Linked DNA regions of Homo sapiens: region 2 is linked to region 1. Evidence: promoter capture Hi-C in 16 types of primary human blood cells and fetal thymus (Javierre and others, 2016). All regions are on one chromosome and are shown on one strand. The core of a region is centred on a gene start or on the middle of the fragment in contact, and the rest is flanking DNA. Distances in the headings are between cores, read along the strand shown. Region 1 holds the start of RBMS1 (RNA binding motif single stranded interacting protein 1). Region 2 has its middle 260 kb from the start of RBMS1.

The links. Contacts are between HindIII fragments. The CHiCAGO score rates a contact against its expected background, and 5 or more counts as called.
Region 2: a contact is called between a fragment that was not itself captured here and the fragment with the promoter of RBMS1 in region 1, in 1 of 17 cell types (monocytes). The highest score is 5.3, in monocytes.

The regions. Positions count from the first base shown.
Region 1 is chr2:160,490,755-160,496,347 of GRCh38, reverse strand. It overlaps RBMS1 (RNA binding motif single stranded interacting protein 1), which reads left to right and starts at 2,541. Exons shown (of 14, transcript NM_016836.4): 1 at 2,541-3,059. The coding sequence starts at 2,985. RefSeq lists a silencer at 2,114-2,293 and an enhancer at 2,480-3,000. The HindIII fragment of the contact is 13,330 bases long and covers 1-4,912 here.
Region 2 is chr2:160,749,902-160,755,494 of GRCh38, reverse strand. No RefSeq gene overlaps it. Among named protein-coding and RNA genes, the nearest start is that of RBMS1, 260 kb to the right of the region's middle. The HindIII fragment of the contact is 2,743 bases long and covers 1,099-3,841 here.

The sequences.
Region 1 (5,593 bases), core at 1,292-3,791:
GTGTTGTAGGAAACATGCAAATGAAATTCAGGAATGCCAAATTGTTTTCTAAAGTGGTGGTTAGACCAATTTATACTTCCTCCAGGAAGCAGTGTTTTCAGATTTCCCCCCTTCCACATTTTTACCTACTCTTAATATTTTTAGAGTTCTTAATTTTTGCAAATCCGGTGAATATGAAATGGTATAGTAGTATTATTTTAATTTGCATTTCTCTTATTACTAATGAACTTGAGCATCTTTTTATATGTTTTCTGAATATTTGTGCTTCTGTGAAATACACATTCATTCTTTTGTTCATATTCTAACAAGTTCTCTTTTTTTATTGATTATTTATACATTCTGTATACTAACCTTTTGTGTTATATGTATTACAGGTATTTAGTGGCTTTTATCGCTTTTTATAAAATCCTTCAATGAACCAGTGTTCTTAATGTTAACAGTCAAATCTGTCAATCTTACACTGTTGTTCCCCTTATTTAACCAATCTTTCCTATTTCAGGGTCAAAAAGGTATTCTTCTATATTGTCTTCTAACAGCTTTATACTTTTGTTTTTCACATCCAGGTCATGATTCACCTCAATTTTCCACCCTCCTCCCTTGGTATGTGTGAGGCAGGGCTCCCATTTCATTTTTTCCATATGATTGCCAGTTGACCCAGAATCATTTATTGAAAAGTTCATTCTTTCTCCACTGCGCTATAATACCAACTCAGTCATAAATCAAGTGTCTATACAAGTGTAGGTCTGCTTTTGGGCTCTCTAAAACAGGCTGAATTTCCATCATCCAGAAAAAACAGTAAGTAGAACAGTCTAAGTTTGGTAGTTTCCCTTATTACCTCAAACCTAGAACTTCTGCGATTGTTCTCGATTTACTTCTCTTCCTTCTGTCACTCTTCCAAACCATCATTCCTAGTCTTCCTAAAGCACAATTTAGTTCATGTCAGTTCCCTGTTTAAAAACATTAAAAGGCCCCACATTGAAACAATATGGGAAATATTTTAGGCTCCCCTAGTCTGACAGTGACCCATTCCACTTTTCAGGTCTGCATGCACCTCAACAGTGCCTACAATATAGCAGACATAGTAAATATTAGCTTCCTTATAGGCTTTTACATAGGTAAATGAGAGGGACATGATTTGCCTCCTGGCAGAGCCAAAATGTTCTCACCTATACTTATATTTATTTTGTTTTTGTCAAACATGTAAGATCTAGAAATTTGTCTAAACCATAGAACGATTATAAGGGTTTCAGGTCCTTATTTTGTCATTGTTTTAAAGTATCTTACTAAACCTATTTTAAAATGTTATCATATAAAAATAATAACTGTTTAACAAAATAATGCATTCCAGTTGAGTTTAATTTACCTTGTGCTATTAACAAAAGACTCTTCAAAAACCAAAATGACAAAGTAAACAAGGTCTATTTAATAACAAACACAGTTTTTTATTACATTTTATTAGATGTGCCGGAACCCTAATTTGAGGATGCTTGCTTACCTATGCTATCCGTATGTACATTTTGGTATTAGCTCTCTTTTTGAGCTGGAATATAAAAGTCTTCTGCAGGCAGCTTCGGGGACCAATTAATTCCATTAAATTATATCTAGTTATGTAGTGAACTGAACCACTGCTGGTCTGAGGCTGTCTAGAGCTGTGACAATTAGGAGATGGAGAGAGGCAGAAAGAGAGATTGATTTTATATGTCACTGAAGCACACTGCAACAATATGCCAGCGTGACTTTCAAAATGGCCTTAAAATATTCCAAACTCAGGGAGTTTCCTTGCTCCTGAGTGGGAGTTGACAGACTGTCTGGCAGCATTAGAAAGAGGCAGAGAAAAGCTGATGTCTATATTGTGTCCTCTAATAACATTCTGCCTCTTTGCGGCATCCCCCTCTTAGAAGGATCCGTCTATATGTTGTGAGGGGTGTGTGTGTGTGTGTGTGTGTGTGTGTATGTATGTATGTGCTTTGCCTCCCCTTGTGCAAGGGGCATGATTTCACGTCTCACATCTGGGAAAACCAAACCGAAGGACGCTAACCCTCCCAAGGTCACCTAGATTAGTCTTGTGGCCCCGGGTCGGGGGTGGGTGGGAGGAACAGAACCCAGGTGTCCAGACTCCAGCTTTGTTGGGCATTAAATCATTTTCCTTCCCTTGTGAAAAAAAATTACTGGGCGGTGGGAAGTGAACGATTAATCAGATTTCCTCTTTTCCCTTATTTCCCCTCCCCCTTACGAAGATAAAAACTCGGGAAAGCAAAAGAGGTGCCCGCCCTGCAGTTCTTAAGCTGGGTCCCCCCGCATTCCCCCTCCACCCCCACTCCCACTCCCATTTCCCCACCCCCGACACAAAGCGATCTGGACTCACAGGGCTTCCGCCCGTCCAACCGCGAGCCTGGGAGGTGAGGAGTGGTTAAAACTCAGCCCTCACCTCCAGCGGGTCCCGGGCTCGGCGGCGCCCAGGCCCCGCCCCCGCCCGCCCTTCCCCCACGGCCTCGGAACGCCAGCCCCTCTCCTCTCTCCACATCGGGCGCACCCACCCCAGATGCCGCCTGGCACCAAGCGCAGCCGCCGCTGCCGCACTTTCCACTTGTATTGATCACCTCTCAGCCCCGCGCAGCCGGCTCGCCCGAGCGGACCGCGGCCAGCGCGCCAGCCCTTGGCAGCCCCGGAGCAGTCGGGCTCCGGGAGGAAACTCCTTGGGAGCGCCCTGTCCGGGGTGCCCTCTGCGCTCTGCAGTGTCTTTCTTTCTGCCTGGGAGGAGGAGGAGGAGGAGGAAGAGGAGGAGGAGGAGGAGGAGGAGGAGGAAGAGGAGGAGGAGGAGGAGGACGTCTGGTCCCGGCTGGGAGGTGGAGCAGCGGCAGCAGCAGCAGCCGCCGCCGCCGCCGCCGCTGCCGCCGCCGCCGGAAAGGGAGAGGCAGGAGAGCCCGAGACTTGGAAACCCCAAAGTGTCCGCGACCCTGCACGGCAGGCTCCCTTCCAGCTTCATGGGCAAAGTGTGGAAACAGCAGATGTACCCTCAGTACGCCACCTACTATTACCCCCAGTATCTGCAAGCCAAGGTAAAGGGGCGCCGGGGAGAGGTGACGGCCGGAGGAGGGGGCCCGGGGACGCGCGCAGGGTCAGGCCTGGGGAGGGGGGCGCGCGGCGAACCCCCGCCACCGCCGGGCGGAGTTGCTGGAAGGTTGCTAACTATAGCGCTGGCCTGGGCAGAGCCGGGCGGCGCGCGGGGCGGCGGCTTCCCTGGGAGCGGAGTGCGGGGATCGGGTTACAGAAAGCCGCGGGGGGAGAGACTAGACAGGAAAGAGCCACCAGCCCCTTCCTGGCCCGGCCAGCGGGGAGGGTCGTGGGGTCGAGCGGCGCCCCTCGCCGAGCCCTGGCTGGCCGGCGGCCGTCGCCTGGTGTGCGCGTCTGGATCCGCTGGTGGCCCGGCTTTTCGACCCCTTCTCCAAGGGCCTCGCCCTGTAAGCTGTAACTCTTCGCTCCCCTCGCCGTGGCGCGGAGCCTCCCGCCCCCCAGGGACGCCCCTCCACCTCCCGCGCACGCGATGACTGGGGCTGGAGGGGCGGCGGGGCCGGGATATTTTCCTCCCCGCCTCCGGCCCTGAGCGCCCGCCCCTCGCCTCTGATCTTTGTGCGGTGTGGCACTTCACCTGGTTACTGATTTCTACTTTTACGCTGGTGTTTTGGGTAGAAAAGTGGCCAAAGTTCACTCGCGTTCATTGATGTCCCTTCTAATCTCTAGAGGTTTTGCAAAGGAGGGACAATGGGCAGATTTCAGTGCAGAGAAAGAAGTGACTTCGTATTTGGTTAAAAAAGAAACAAAAACAAAACTAGCTTATATGTTTGCCACAGATCGATTTCCAATGTTGCTTTTTAAAAAGTGACCTCGGCACACTCTTGGGTAACAACAGTTGATGACATGTAGCCATACAAATTGCGCCTGGCTTTCTAGGGACCCTGGGTACTTTGTTAGTGGGCCTATCTTATTTTTACAATAAGAATTTGATGCCTCCCGAACTCATTTAAAAAAATTATTTGGGCCATGAAGACTGGAAATTTCACTGCTTTGGAAGCAGCCGCCAGAATTTGGGAGGGTGGAAGTTGGACGCAGCAGCCTTCTTCAGCCATTAACATCTATCACAACTCTGGGTGCCCTTCTAGATCACAAAAGAATCAGGTATGGATGCAGTGTCCGAACTTTCTTTGGGAGGTTGTAATCATGCTCTGCTTGCTGGTAGTTGGGCATTTCCGGCCTGGTACAAAGAATCTCTGATTCAGCCTTTTCTTTCTTAGAATGTGTGTGGTCCACGTTTTCATGTACTTACGACATAGCCCTGTATTTGTCTACGTAAAAAGGACACTTGTCAGTTTCGAGACCAGAAATGTCCTAGCAATCCCGGGCCTCATTTTCACTTCCCCCAATTCCCACTTTACTTTGGGTCACCAGAAAGCAGCAAGATGGTAGCAGCAAGGATACCCCTTATTCATCTCTGTGTAGTTCTCACAGTATTTGTTTTAGGAACTTGCAGGAGATGCTAGTTTTCTGTGAGCTACATGGTAGCTGTTCAAAGAAATTTTGTGGCATAATCAATGCACTACCTTTTAGATATCTTATATATTTAATGCACTTGTTTAAATTATGCAGCATTGGGTGCCTAAAGGACAGCTTATTCAACACTTAACAATATGAATAATAAATACACCCACTCAGGTGAGGAAGAAAAAAAGCCATGTTTCTACAGGCACATTTACCTTAGTAATTTTTATATACCATTAGTAAGTTAGAAACCAAGTCCATACCATTTAATGTAGCTAATGCAATGCCATTTGGCTTTTTTGCCCTGTAAATAATTGAAGAGAGAGACAAACGGCAAGAGCCTGCTCTAGTAATTAGGGTCGGATCCCAGAAAGCTTTACGGCCCATTTTCTGAAAGTGTGCTTCCTGCATAAAGCATTTAATATTGATTTGTGTTGCGGTAAATGACATTCTCAAAACATTTTGCTAATTCTACAATTAAATCTGAAATCCTATTATTCGGAATTCCTTTGTTTCTGGAGAAAGGTATACATACTCACTTGACCTATATAACATGGTATTAAAGTTTGGTAATTAAGTCTAAATTCCCTGTTGTACAAGTATCTTGATTATCTCAGAAGGGGACATCTTCTAAAAATGGCACGTGACTAGATGCAAATTTTAGGTAAGCAGAGTTCGGAACAGGCAGCCCTTTTTTTTTTCTCTCCCTTATGTATCTGTTGGTAGCATGGTAGTAATGTTGAATCATTTAAAAAAAAAAAGACTTTGATTTGTAGTTAGTTTAAAAACAAGTGTTGCCTAATCTACCTAAAGAGTTAATAAACTCTCTTAGGATCTGCTGTCTGTCATGATTCTTGCCTCTGTGTGTGCTTTAACCTTCCGAAAATATGGGATAGAAAACATCACTCTGTTTAAAGTACAGTGATGTGTTTGCTAGGCAGAGTCATTTTGAAACTTCTGTTTGGAAGCTATATCAAAAACTGAAGAATGGCATGGTCATCTAAAAAGTGATAGCTAATTTGTACTCAAGAGATAGATGTGATTTTCTCAAATCTAA
Region 2 (5,593 bases), core at 1,221-3,720, 260 kb before region 1:
AATTCAGGACCTAGGACTTCAGCAACAAGAGGCAAATTGCCCAACATTTAAGTCTTCAGGTATACCTAAAGGTGTTTTTAATGCCCATGTAGGTACAGAAGACATGGCTTTGGGCTCAGGAAAGGTGGGGGAGCTAAAGCATCATGCCCACCATAAAGCTGGGATAAGAGAAGAGCTGCTGCCTCAGTGAAAAGGGGATAAGAACAATTCTACCCACTGATACAGAAAGCAAAAAGGAAACTTGTCTTTGTTGGGATTCTGAGGAGAGGAAAAAAAAGTCACCTGTGAAAACTAAAAACTCCAAGCCTGACCAAATTTATGTCATCTATGGGCATGGACATTCCTAGTTTGAAAAATTAACAATAAGACTTATCTAAGTTTGGTGAAATCCTTGGAGCATCCAGCAAAAACAAAAATGAAAACATTCCCAACCAGAACTTCTATGTATGCAAGAACTCCAATAGGAAAAAAATGAAGCTAAGACAAGAACACTTTTCTGTTTAAATAAACTCTCACACACAAATAAATTCTAAGCCATGGTGGAAAGTGAGCACACACAACAAATATAAGAATTATGTACTCCTCCTTACTGTCAAATATGATATAATCAAATCAAACAATGTGAAATCATCTATAAAACCAAATGATTAGAGTAAAAAAGGGAAAAATAAATATCAAAACATATGACACTATAAAAATATATGATCAATTTGAAAAAGAAAAATGACCTTTAGATAGGAAGAAAAAGTCCTTGAATAAAAGTTAGTTGAGGCCGGGCATGGTGGCTCATGCCTGTAATCCCAGCACTTTGGGAGGCCGAGGTGGGCGGATCACCAGGTCAGGAGATTGAGACCATCCTGCTCAATCAACGTGGTGAAACTCTGTCTCTACTAAGAATACAAAAATTAGCCAGGCATGGTGGCATGTGCCTGTAGTCCCAGCTACTTGGGAGGCTGAAGCAGGAGAATTGCTTGAACCCAGGAGGTGGAGGTTGCAATGAGCCAAGATTGCGCCACTGCACTCCAGCCTGGCGACAGAGCAAGACTCTGTCTCAAAAAAAAAAAAAAAAAAAAAAAAAAAGCTAGTTGACATAAAGCTTAGACAATTTAAGAGGGAATTAACAAATGGAAGGCAGACAAGGAAATTACCCCAATTGCAGCACAAAGAGATAAAGAAACAGGACAAAACAAAGGCTTAAGCACAGAGTATAGAAGATCAAACATATGCTGAAGTAGGAGTTATAGAAGGAGAGAAAACACAGAAGATGGGGGAAATATAATATTCAAAGGGATATTTGTTGATAATTTTTCAGAGTTGATGAAAGATATGAATCCTCAGATAGCAGAACATCAAAGACAATAGGAAAATCCTAAAAGCAAACAGAGAGAAAAGACTACCTACAAAGGAAGGATTAATTTCTTGGCATAGAGAAAGGAGAATGGAATGGGAATAAGCATTTAGTTGTATCTGTAATATTTTATTCCTTCAAAAAATAATCTGGAGCAAATATGAAAACATGACTGTAAAATAAGTGTGGTAAGTATAATGGTGTCTGTTATATTATTTTCTTACTCTTTTACCTGTTTGACATGTTTCAGAGTTAAAAATTAAAATACGAAAAGTTGAAAAGGAGTAACATTTATCAATAAAATAGTGTTTATCACAAAAACATCTATTGTCCCATTTCCATGGACCAACTCCCCATCCCAGGAAATAGTAATAAAATAGAAGTGAGGGGGCTCATACTGGTATTCAGCTTGGAAGAGGCTTACCAGTTACCTTAATGATGGCAATATTTAGATCAAAGATTGTCAAACTATGACCCTGGGACAACCACCTGTTTTTATAAATAAAATTTTATTGATACACAGTATACTTATTTGTTTATATATTGTCTGTAGCTTCTTTGACTCTATAACAGTGGAGTTATTAATGATTATAAGCCTAAAATATTTACTACCTAGCCTTTTAAGAAAAAGTTTGCCAACCCTTGACTTAAATGATGCTGTTTCTTGTCATTTCCCTTTAATGAGTTAGCAATGTATTTTTAACTGAAGTCACACATTTACATAAGTTTCAAGATAATAATTAACTAAGTTTAAAGGTCTTAAATTCATACATAGGAAAAACTTGAGGTAAGAGTAAAAACTGAGAAATGCTAAAATATCTTTGAGTGTTTATTTAGTTGGATTTTTCTACCTTCAAGATTCTCAATAATCAAGCAAAACTGGTTTGGGTAACATGAAAGTTCAAATCAGTCATCGGATTTTGCAATGTGACCCAATTAATCTTGTGTGTATTACACTTTCCCATAATCCCCACTTTCAGCCAAAGTTACACTAATTTTATATTGGCTTAGAAAGCAGGAGAAAAAAGTATTTGTCTAGGCTTGTATTTTTTTAAATTCTCTTTCCATACATATTTTAGTTCCTAAGAGCTGGAAATACTGGCTCTTCATATATTTAAGATGCCTGAAAATTATATTTTTATGCTATTTAATACATATTGTGATGTTTGAAGAGAATGATTCATCACTTAGTCATGACCAAAAAGAGAACTGGAGTTTTCACCTCAGTGTTTGCTTAAACCTCAGGAAATCTTTTTTTCTTTCAATTGGAGAAACCCAGATTTTATTTTTTACTAAAGACTGGAGATTTTACTGATTTAATCACTTGTCAATAAAAATAATAATAGCTCCTTTGAAGACACAAATTATTACTTGCCCCAGATATGGCAAGGAAAATTACCATCACTTTACTCCTTCCAGTCTCTCTGTCACCAGATTCTACCTCCCCTCTCTGATCTTATCACATTCTTTGGACTTGCTCTTTTCAACCACAGCCTACCCTGCCCCCATCCCTCACCCATCTCCTACATATCCTTGTAGTGAATGCCTGTTTAGTGCCTTTTTTACAGCTTTCCGATGCTTAGTTCCAACCTCACCATTATCTAGTGGTCATTCACAAACGGGTATTAATTAATTAGTTAATCTTTATTAAATATCTATAACCTAAAATGACCTTGCCCCTCTCTAAATTTCTACAGTTTTCAGTTTAAAAAACAAGAGCCCTAGATTATTTTCCATTTGTTACATGAAAATAAAACATTATTTCTTCTGCAAACTCTTTCAAGGTAGGAACAATGTTGCATGTTTTTAAAAAAATAGCATTGAAAAGACTCAAACAAGAAAGAGAAAAAATAAAAGCCGCAAAGGGCATCCCAGACAATGTGACGAAGAACCCGGTACCTGCTTTAATACTTACTGGTTTGCTGTTTTATGTATCACATATATATTTGCTATTTGAAGATAAAACTACTTGTTAAATGTCGTACTTTTAAAAAATCATTTTACATTAGGGAGACATACATTGAAATCCGTTATATAAATTTGTTAGGGTGGAATAAGCCTTCTTTAAACACAAATCAAGTGCAGAAAGAAACAAAAAGCAAACAATGCAGTGCCACTCGGATTCTAAGTCCATTAACATAGTAATTTATAGTTGGATTTATCTTCTAAGGGCTTGTGGAATTGAGCCTGAAAACAGGCAAGTGTGCATAATTGTTCTTTTTCAAGCCAGAAACTATTTTTCTTTCTCTTTGAAGGTTAAAGTCAGATTTGTAACTTACAACTTAAGCCTCTTTACTATTTTTCCTATTTTCCATGGAATGATTCACCAGTGTTTCACACCGAAGGAAAAGGGTTGGAGAGAGACTCGACTTTTTGTTTTATCCATCAGATTTTCTGAGGTGTTCAAATGGGTAATTTCCAAAGAACAACACTGACAGTCCCTAAAGCCAGTAATAAATTAAATTGTAAAATTATGTTTGTTTGTAGAAAGCTTATAGATTCTTACAAAGCCCTCACCTTGTACGTCAAGCCACCTCCGTCCCATTTTGCCCTCTATTTCTTTTCCTTCACCCCTGCATAGAGCTCTTGGCTCAGTTTTGATCTGTAACTGCCTTACATTGGAATAGCCTTTCAACACACATTGGCTGTGCTGTCCAAATAATGGGCTTTCCAACTTTTTGGGTTTTTTTTTAACAAAATGTCCAGAAACTCTGTTTTGCCTTTTGGGCAGGATGTCAGGGAAGGCAGGTGGTTGAAAGGAAGCCTGGAGATGAAAGAGATAATAAAAAATGTGCTCACATTCTGGTACATACTCCTACCTTCCCAGGACAAAGACAAGTTTGGGAGTTTTCTTTAAAGAAGACTGGTAATACGCTAATGGTGCAGCAAGTCTGTCCCCAAAGAGTGGAAGTGAATGAGACCTGGGTATTTTCCATGGAATGATTCACCAGTGGTTCACACCGAAGGAAAAGGGTTGGAGAGAGACTCATGACCATAATTCATACTGAGGTCTCTTTGAAGACAAGAAACCTATTTTTTCATCTTTGACTCTCCAATAACTTATAAATATTTGTTGTATAAATATTTGTTTAATGATGATTGAATGAGTTTTTATTCTGAGCTTTGCTAAATAGCACCAATACTAAATTCTATGTGTGTTCAAGTGACTATATTAGAAGAGCTGTGCATATTTTGTGTGTTTGTGTGTGTGTGTTTGTACTGACATAGAAGTGGCATGAGTGGGGAAATAAATATGAATAGGTAGGCTTTGCAACTGAAGTAATTTCAACCAGAGAGCACAGAAAGTGATTATCATTGATTATTAATGGATGTGCCTATCAAAAGACGGAAAGGTGCATTTATTTATTCAGTCATTCAGTAAGAATTCAGTGGGAAGTTACTGTGTGCTTTAGCCCTGAAGCAGGTGTTGTGAATGATACAAATATAAGTCAGATGTCCCCACAGGTGATTTTTCTGGCTGTGCCACACCCAGCATTATAAAGGACAGGGCATCTCTGACCATCAGCAAATAGAATCCACTCCCACTGAGCTCCTTACTGGGCAATGCTGATTTTATTGAAGATTCCATCAGGGAGGCAGAGAAAAAGTTTATATTGCATCTACCATAGCCCTCAACATCTCGTATACCTTGTTTAACATAATTCTTCTCCTTAGTCCTTGTACCTCCCCTAGGCTTCTCTTTCCATCATTCTGGTACACAGCTCTGTGCCACTCATCTCCTCTCTCCATGGCTTTTCTGGAGCAAATGTGTATATATCGTACAGATGCCACCAGGGCTCTGTTCCTACATCCTCAGACCTTACCATTATGTGCATGTAGACCCAGCTCCTGATCCCAGCTCTCATCTCTTTGCCTAAGATAGATAGGTAGGTAGGTAGATAGATAGACAGACAGACAGACAGACAGACAGACAGTTATTCCCATGGAAGAGCAGCTCCATCTGTTTTTTGTAGTCCTCGGTGTAATCAACCTACTAGCCTGAAAGGCAGGATTCTTACACACTTCTCTCCATACCTATTTTAACCTAGGTTCCCCTAGAAGCAGATCCTGATTTTGAAGGATTCAGTGCGAATAGTTTATTTGGAAGGTGAACCTAGAACTCATAGAAGAGACAGGGAAGGGTGGGGAGTGAAGAAAGTATGCAATATCAAGTTGCCCCTTTAGGTGACTGGAGTGGAATCTTGCTAGGCTTTCTGGTAGTCGGTGTAGAACACACGTTAGAAT